Linked DNA regions of Homo sapiens: region 2 is linked to region 1. The links are contacts of gene promoters, found by promoter capture Hi-C in blood cells and fetal thymus (Javierre and others, 2016). All regions are on one chromosome and are shown on one strand. Each heading gives the region's core, a stretch centred on a gene start or on the middle of the fragment in contact. The rest is flanking DNA. Distances are from core to core; before and after follow the strand shown. Region 1 holds the start of PSTPIP1 (proline-serine-threonine phosphatase interacting protein 1). Region 2 has its middle 68 kb from the start of LINGO1.

Region 1 (3,576 bases), core at 166-2,665:
ATCATCCCATCTGATGGATGGAGAAACTGAGCTCAGGGAGGCTGAGCCAGTGCTATCAGAGGTGGTGGTGCCATTGGGAGGTGAGGTGCAGCCTGGCTCACTCTATGGCCTACAAAGTTCAAGGGGATTTTTACACTATTAATTGTCTTCAGCTGCAAGTAACAAAAAACCTGACTGGGGCGCCTTACAGATTAAAGATTAGCTCAAATCCAAGGTTTCTGGAGGTGAGGGCCTTCTGGGGGCAGTCCCATTGCTCTGCAATCCTCCCCAAAGTGTTTCCTCTTGGGTGGCTATTTCAGAGCCTGGGTGTGCCCCCTCTCTCTAAACCCTGGGCATGCATAATGGGCACTTGGGAGCTCAACTATTTCATCTGCAGCAGCTCTCATCTTATCACCCCGTCAGCTGTAAGGCAGACATCAGTGAGGGTGGTGATTTGCGGACAATCCCTGACTCACCCCATTTTGCCAGCCTGCCCTGGGCTCAGGACTTCCTGCTGCATCTTCTGCTGAGCCGGCAGGGCGTGGCGTCTCAGGGCTGGGGCTGGGGCTCTAGTCCAGGGCTCTTCCTAAGGTGGTACCACACAGTGCCCCCAGCACCTGCCCACCAAACTGGAAATTCCAGAAATATTCTCGACACCGTCTACTTTCCAAAGACTGGGTGTGGCAGATGAGGAAGCTGAGGCTCAGCGAGTTGGGGGGTCTATTAAGGTCCCTCAGCCCCTGAAAGGTGGGGTCAAAATTAAACAAAAACTGGGCCTCAGACTGGGTTTCCAAACACCCCACTCTGTGCCTTGATAATCCTGTTTCTCTCTCCATCCATTCCCATTCACTGAGCCGGAAGCCTCCATCTTCAGAAGGGGGTTCTCTGCCCCAAACAGCGTCTAATCTGGAGACTTGCGGTGGTGGCGGTGGTGGTGGTGGGGGCAGTGCCGGGGCCTCAGGCTGTTCTCCCTCATCTTGCTGCCTGCTCACCTTGCCTCTGTGTGCTCACAGCCCCCCAGAGCACAGCTGTGTCTGCTCCCAGACTATGGGCTCCTTGAGGGCAGGACCTGGTTTGGGTCCCAGAGCAGCCAGGGTTTGATGAATGACAGATGCCCTAGACCTGGGTAAGCCCCTCCAGAATGACTTGCTAGTGCGGGGTGGGGAGTCTGGCATCTCTGGGCCCAGCCTGGAAGGGTGCTGGACTGGCTGGCGGGTGACACACCTGGGGTTCCTGGGCCCCTCCTGGCCACACTGTCAGTGGGCCTCAAGCTCCCTTAGCATATGGCCTCTGGAATAAAGTGAGCCCGCACCTCGGGAGGGGGCAAGCAGAGGCAGGAGCAGGATGGCAGGTGGCAGGCGGGGCTGCACAGGGGAGCACAGCAACTCCACTTCCTGTGGGCGAGGGCCCTGTGCCTGCCCCGGGGGAGGTTGCACAAACCTTCCTGCGCAGGCCTCGGGCTGCCTGCCTGCCTGCCTGCCTGGCCCGGCCCGAGCTCCAGCCTGCCTCTTCCACTGGCCACTGCCTCCCACCCAGGGCTGGCATCCCTGCTCCCTGCCCTGGGTCCCAGACTGTGTCCTCCATCACCGCAGGGTCGGTGAGGGGCTGGGCTGGACACCAGGGCCCGCCCTCCCATCACTGAGCTCCACTCCTTCCTCATTTTGCTGCTGATTCTAGCCCCAAACAAAACAGGTTGAGCTTTTTCCTCCCCTCAGAAGCTCCTCTCTGGCTCGTGGCTGCCTTCTGAGTGTTGCAGACGGCGCCGGCCGGGAAGGGGGGCCTGGGCCAGCCCTGCCAGGACTGGGACGCTGCTGCTGGCGCCTGGCCCTCCATCAGGCCAGCCTGTGGCAGGAGAGTGAGCTTTGCCGCGGCAGACGCCTGAGGATGATGCCCCAGCTGCAGTTCAAAGATGCCTTTTGGGTGAGTGAGGATGGTTGGGGGCACTGAACAAGTGGAGGGGGCAGAGCTAGGCTGAAATCTCCATGCAGGTGATGGGATGCGGCTCCGAGAGGGGAGCTTTCTCATAAAATAGTGGTTGATTCTTGGTCTTAATTGTCATGGAGGTGGCCCAGGCCCCCACCCCTTCTGGACTGGAACGCAAGTGGACTCCGTGAATGAGCGTCCTCCTCTCTGCTGCCCCGTGTGTTTTCTCCTCTGGGAGACCTCTCCCCACAGCAGGAGCTCCTCAGAAGAGGGTAACACATGGGTGGGGGCTTGAGGAGGATGTGTGGGGCAGCAAAGGAGGGGTCACAGATTTAGAGACCAGACAAACTTGAGTTCAGGTCTTGGCTCTGTTACAGGCTGGGCAAGTCATTTCTGTCTCCAAGCCTCAGTCTCTCCATCTATATAATGGTGATAAAATAGAAATCAACACACCAACTAAAGCATTGGATCAGCAAGGGGATCCAAGGCACTAAAGCCCCCAGCACCTTGCCTCACTCCAAATGGTAATTCTGTTCCCCTCACCCAGCCCCTTGTCCCTTGCAGACCTTAGGGGTCCTTCAAGGAGGCAGCCAGGTGGGCAATGGCTTGCTTACTTTCTTAAATTCAACACGGGCTTAAATCAAGTCATTTCCCCCATGAAATAAGGGCGCCCAGCCAGTGGTAGAGGTAAAGTGGCTTGGCCCGGGCCACGTAGCCTGCAGCCCAGCTTGGACCCCTGGTCATCTCAGCACTTTTCCAGCTGTCCTTCAACTACCCCTCTGCCCCTCAGCTCTGGCTGTGCCCAGGGCTCTGGGGAAAAACTGAGACCTCTCTGGTTGGAGCTGGGGAATGTGGCTGTCCCGGGGTGCTGCCTCCAACCCCGAAGAGGACGCTCTGGCCCTCGGCTCAGCCGGCTGAGCCCCAGCCAACAGCCCTGCCCTCCCCGGGCCTTTTCCTGGGGCTGCAGCCAGGAGGATGAGAGCTATGGAGCCAGGCCTTCCTTCCCTTCCGGCCGGCTCCACTTGGGGCCTGTGGCCAGCGTGTGAGTGTTCTGCTTCCTCTGCTCTGACTGTACAGTAGGCAAAGGACCCCACGTGGGGAGGGCACCTTGTGCCTTTCTGGGCCTCAGTTTCCCCATCTCTACAAAGACAGGGTGGGCCCAGCCCAGAGAAGCCAATGGAGGCAGAGCTGCCTCAGCCCATCCGGAGGACCAGGCACCAGGATGCTCAGGGCCCAGGCTGGCAGCTGGAGCCCTGGGGGATGGGGGATGTGAGTCACCACCTAGCTGCCCTGCCTTGGTGTGCAAAGTTGGGGGAAGGGGTAGGGCCTGGAAACCCAGGCCACTCTGTAGCCCAGGGCAGGCCAGGACCCCTTGACTATTTTATCACTGAGACCTCTGTCCAGTCCTAGAGCCCCTGGGCCTGCCTTCCCTAGGGCAGAGCTGGGCAAGGAGCAGCCTCCATGGCAGGATCTGGGCACAGGTAGGGGTGGCGTATAAGGGAGCAGGGTATGGCAGCCGCAGCAGAAGCAAGCAGCCAGCCCCTGTGGAGCTTCCTGAGCGGCATCCTGCCCACACTCTGTGCTCGTCGCACCTCTGGGCTTCCTGGCCTCCAAGTGCCTTGTCTCCTCTGTGTCTGGCTCCCTGAGCCTGGGGCGGGCATATAGTTTCCCTAG
Region 2 (3,376 bases), core at 11-2,510, 570 kb after region 1:
ATTCTATTCCATGAGGCTGGTATTTCTGTAGATGGCAAAGGAGAGATGAGGGGGTGCTAAGGTTCTTGCATTCTTGAGGGATGGTGCGATTAACTGCAAAATTGTCCCCCAAAGTTTGTACCAATTCCCACTCCCACCAACCCCAAAGCAGATAAACTGGGAGAGGGATGAAAAATCTTTACAAAGCCTTCTTGTGTCAACTGATTCACCCCAGGATCTGTTACTGACACTTGCCAACCTCAAAAGTCCAAGGAAAAAGTAATCATGACGATCACTGTAGAAGACCCAGAGGGCCTCACTAGGGGCTAATCCAACTCTCTCCCACCTCTGGCCCCAGCAACCTGGCCTTCCCTAGCCTCAGCCCTGATATTTAGGTCTCTGACCCATGTTGAGATCATTTTTGTGCCTGTCACAAGGAAGGGGATCCAGCTTCATTCTTTTGCATATGAACATCCAGTTGTCCCAGCATCATTTGTCAAAAAGACCATTCTTTCTCCCATTGAATGGTCTTGGCTCTCTTGTTGAAAGGCAATTGACCATAATGTGAGGGTTTCTTTCTGAACTCTCATTTCCACCCCATGATTTATGAGGACAAGCTCAAGCTGGCCTGCTGTAGGATGAGAGACATGAGGAAAAGAAGTGGGTCATCCCAGGTGAGGCCATCCTAGACCAGCAGCCCCGGTCAATCCTCCTGCTGACCACAGACTTGTGAGGGAGCCCATCTGGGAGTCAGCCCAGCCCAGCCCAGCCCAGCCCAGCCCACGGCTGCCCAGCTGACTTGGAGACTTGCGAACATAATAAACGCTTGCTTTAAGACGCTAAGCTTTGGGTTGTCAGGTAACCATTATTTATTCTGCCAGAAAACAGATACAGCTCCAAACTGAAGATAGCCCAGATGTCCCTCCGTGTGGGGCTGGTGGTCCTGCAGTACAATGGAGCACCCTGTGGCCATTTAAAAATTGATCCTTTTGTACCGACCTGGAAGGTGTCCATGATATATTGGTGAGGGAAAAAAGCAAGTGGCTGATCAATATGTATGCCATGACCCAATTTTTGTTTTCTTAAAAAAGTCTGTGTATAAAAAAATATAGAACAGGGACACCTCAGAAAAAGCTGGCAATGATACACAGTGAAGCATTCACAGGGGTTGCCTCTGGGGGAGACAAGAGGGAGTTTGAGGTCTTTTGCTTTCTTTCTGTAATTTTTTAAAAATGAAGATTATTTGGAAGAAAAACAAAGTTAGCATTTTCAAAGACTGTGTGTGTTGAAATGGAGGCCAGCTGCCCACACAGGGATCTCCAGCTTTTTCTCCTCTGCCCTGGCTCCCTGGCTCTGCCTCGACTCCTGGCCCAAGCCCACCCCTCTTGCTGCAAATCCCACAGCCTAGACTCCCCACAGCCCCATAAAACCCCTCGATGGCTTTGCCATCCCTCAAGCCTTTAGGGGTTCACTTTCAATACTAGAGCAGGAAGAGCCTTCGGGATCAAGACTCACCTCTTCATGGCACAGATAGAGGCAAACTGAGGCACGGAGGAGGGAGGGATACACCGGAGGCTTCTGTGAGGCTGCATTGGAGCCAAGGTGAGATGCGGGGTCCTGAGGACCTGCCCCCATCTTGGGTGCCCAAGGCCACCCCCTCCCAGCACAGACCTCTGCTGGGACCCATTTCCCTCAGAGGGGGCCTGGAGGATGAGGGACAAGCTTTGTCCCTCTTGGGAGGAGATGACGAAGGTACTGTGAGGGAGAGTAAAAGGGACAGAGGCAAAGAGGAGGAGGGATAGGGTGGAGTGGGTGCCAGTGCCGGCCTCAGCCCAGAGCCTCTGGCAGCAGCCAGATAATAAGCGGGAATAAAAGAGGAGAGAGAGCGAAATGTCACACACGCTCTGGTGCCATTAGCCACCAGAGAAGGGAAATATCACAGAATTAGGCCAGCCTTTGTTTGCCTTTGTGGAGGAGGAGCATGAGGGGGTCTTCGCTGTGGGTAGGTGGGACTGTGCCTCTGGGGATGGGCCTGTTTTCCCGGGGGAGGGGCAACGAGAGGAGGATTTCACGGCTGGGGCTCTGGGACCCTTGGGCCTCCCAATCCCCAGTTACTGGGCCAGATGCGACTCAGAGAGGGGTGGTGGGAATGGGGACAGGGGAGAGATGGGACTTGTTCCACTTCAAAACAGAGACACCGAACTCAGAGGCCTCCTTGCTAAACTGCCTTTGCTGTTGTTTGTTTATATTTCCCTAGTTATTACCCAAGTCACAGAAACACCCGGGTAATAGCTGTAAAATTACACACTCGCAGCTAATTTGGGTACGACTCTTGGCATAGCAGCCGCGTTTTAAGGAGAAATAAACAAGGCCTGAAATAAAAGTCGGCAGGAATACAAATCTGCAGCAATGAGGCTAGCTCCCCCTTCCCCACGCGGCAGCCAGCGCGCGCGTCACTCCTTCCACACATGCGCGCTCACACGCACCCACACATAAGCCCACCCTAGCCCTTCCCATCCATTCCCTCTGCACCCTGACCCCGCTGCCCGCAGAGCAGCCGAGGGGGCTCGTTCCACTGCCCGCCCCCTCCAACCAGAGCCACGTCCTGGGCTAGGCCAGGGTCCTTGTCTTTGCAGATCCAGGCTGCCCTCCCTGTACCGACTCCCGTCCTCTGTGGGTGCCCACGTTCCACTCTCTTCTAGCCAAGGAGGCTTACCATTCATTCATCCACTCATTCATTCGTTCATTCAAGTGTTTCTTGAGCAACGACTTTGTGCCAGGGACAGTGCTCTAGTGATCGGTAAAATAGACGTTGGTTTCTTCTCAGGGCTAATATCTGTTGAAAGAGATGGATATTAGACAAAAAAAAAAAGGAATAAATATGTAATAAGTTAGGATAAGTGCTCTAAAGGAAGAGTGTAGAAAGAGAAAGAGAAAGGGAGGAGCTTTTGGGGGTTCAGGAAAACGCTCTTTTAGGGGAAAGGAAAGGCCTGGGTTGAGGCCTGAAGTGGGATCTTGCTGGGGGCACAGCAGGGGTATTTCAGGTGGAGGGAACAGACCATGCTATTCAAAGGCCTTGAGGCAGCATGGCCAGTGTGGCTGGCAGGCAGGGAGCTGCGGGGATGTGTGGTGAACCGGCCCAGAGAAGCCTCACAGGTGCTATCAGCCACCTTAGGAGCTGGGAAGGATTATAAGGTTTTAAGGGAGGGGTGGTGGTGAAATGAGATCTGATTGATGGCTTTGAAAGATCTCGCTGCTTGGCTGAGAGAAACTTGCAGAGGAGTGAGAGCGGGTGAGTAGCTGGGGGAGGCTGTTGCGTTCATTCTGGGGAGAGATGACAGCAGCCTGGGACAGGACAGTGGTAATGTGGACACGGAGAAAAGGAGGGGTTGGGAGA

The links. Contacts are between HindIII fragments. The CHiCAGO score rates a contact against its expected background, and 5 or more counts as called.
Region 2: a contact is called between a fragment that was not itself captured here and the fragment with the promoter of PSTPIP1 in region 1, in 1 of 17 cell types (erythroblasts). The highest score is 7.1, in erythroblasts.

What each region holds. Positions count from the first base shown.
Region 1 is chr15:76,993,711-76,997,286 of GRCh38, forward strand. It overlaps PSTPIP1 (proline-serine-threonine phosphatase interacting protein 1), which reads left to right and starts at 1,416. Exons shown (of 15, transcript NM_003978.5): 1 at 1,416-1,899. The coding sequence starts at 1,864. RefSeq lists an enhancer at 1,121-1,170 and a silencer at 1,411-1,600. The HindIII fragment of the contact is 6,151 bases long and covers 1-3,576 here.
Region 2 is chr15:77,563,241-77,566,616 of GRCh38, forward strand. No RefSeq gene overlaps it. Among named protein-coding and RNA genes, the nearest start is that of LINGO1, 68 kb to the right of the region's middle. RefSeq lists an enhancer at 2,139-3,003. The HindIII fragment of the contact is 878 bases long and covers 822-1,699 here.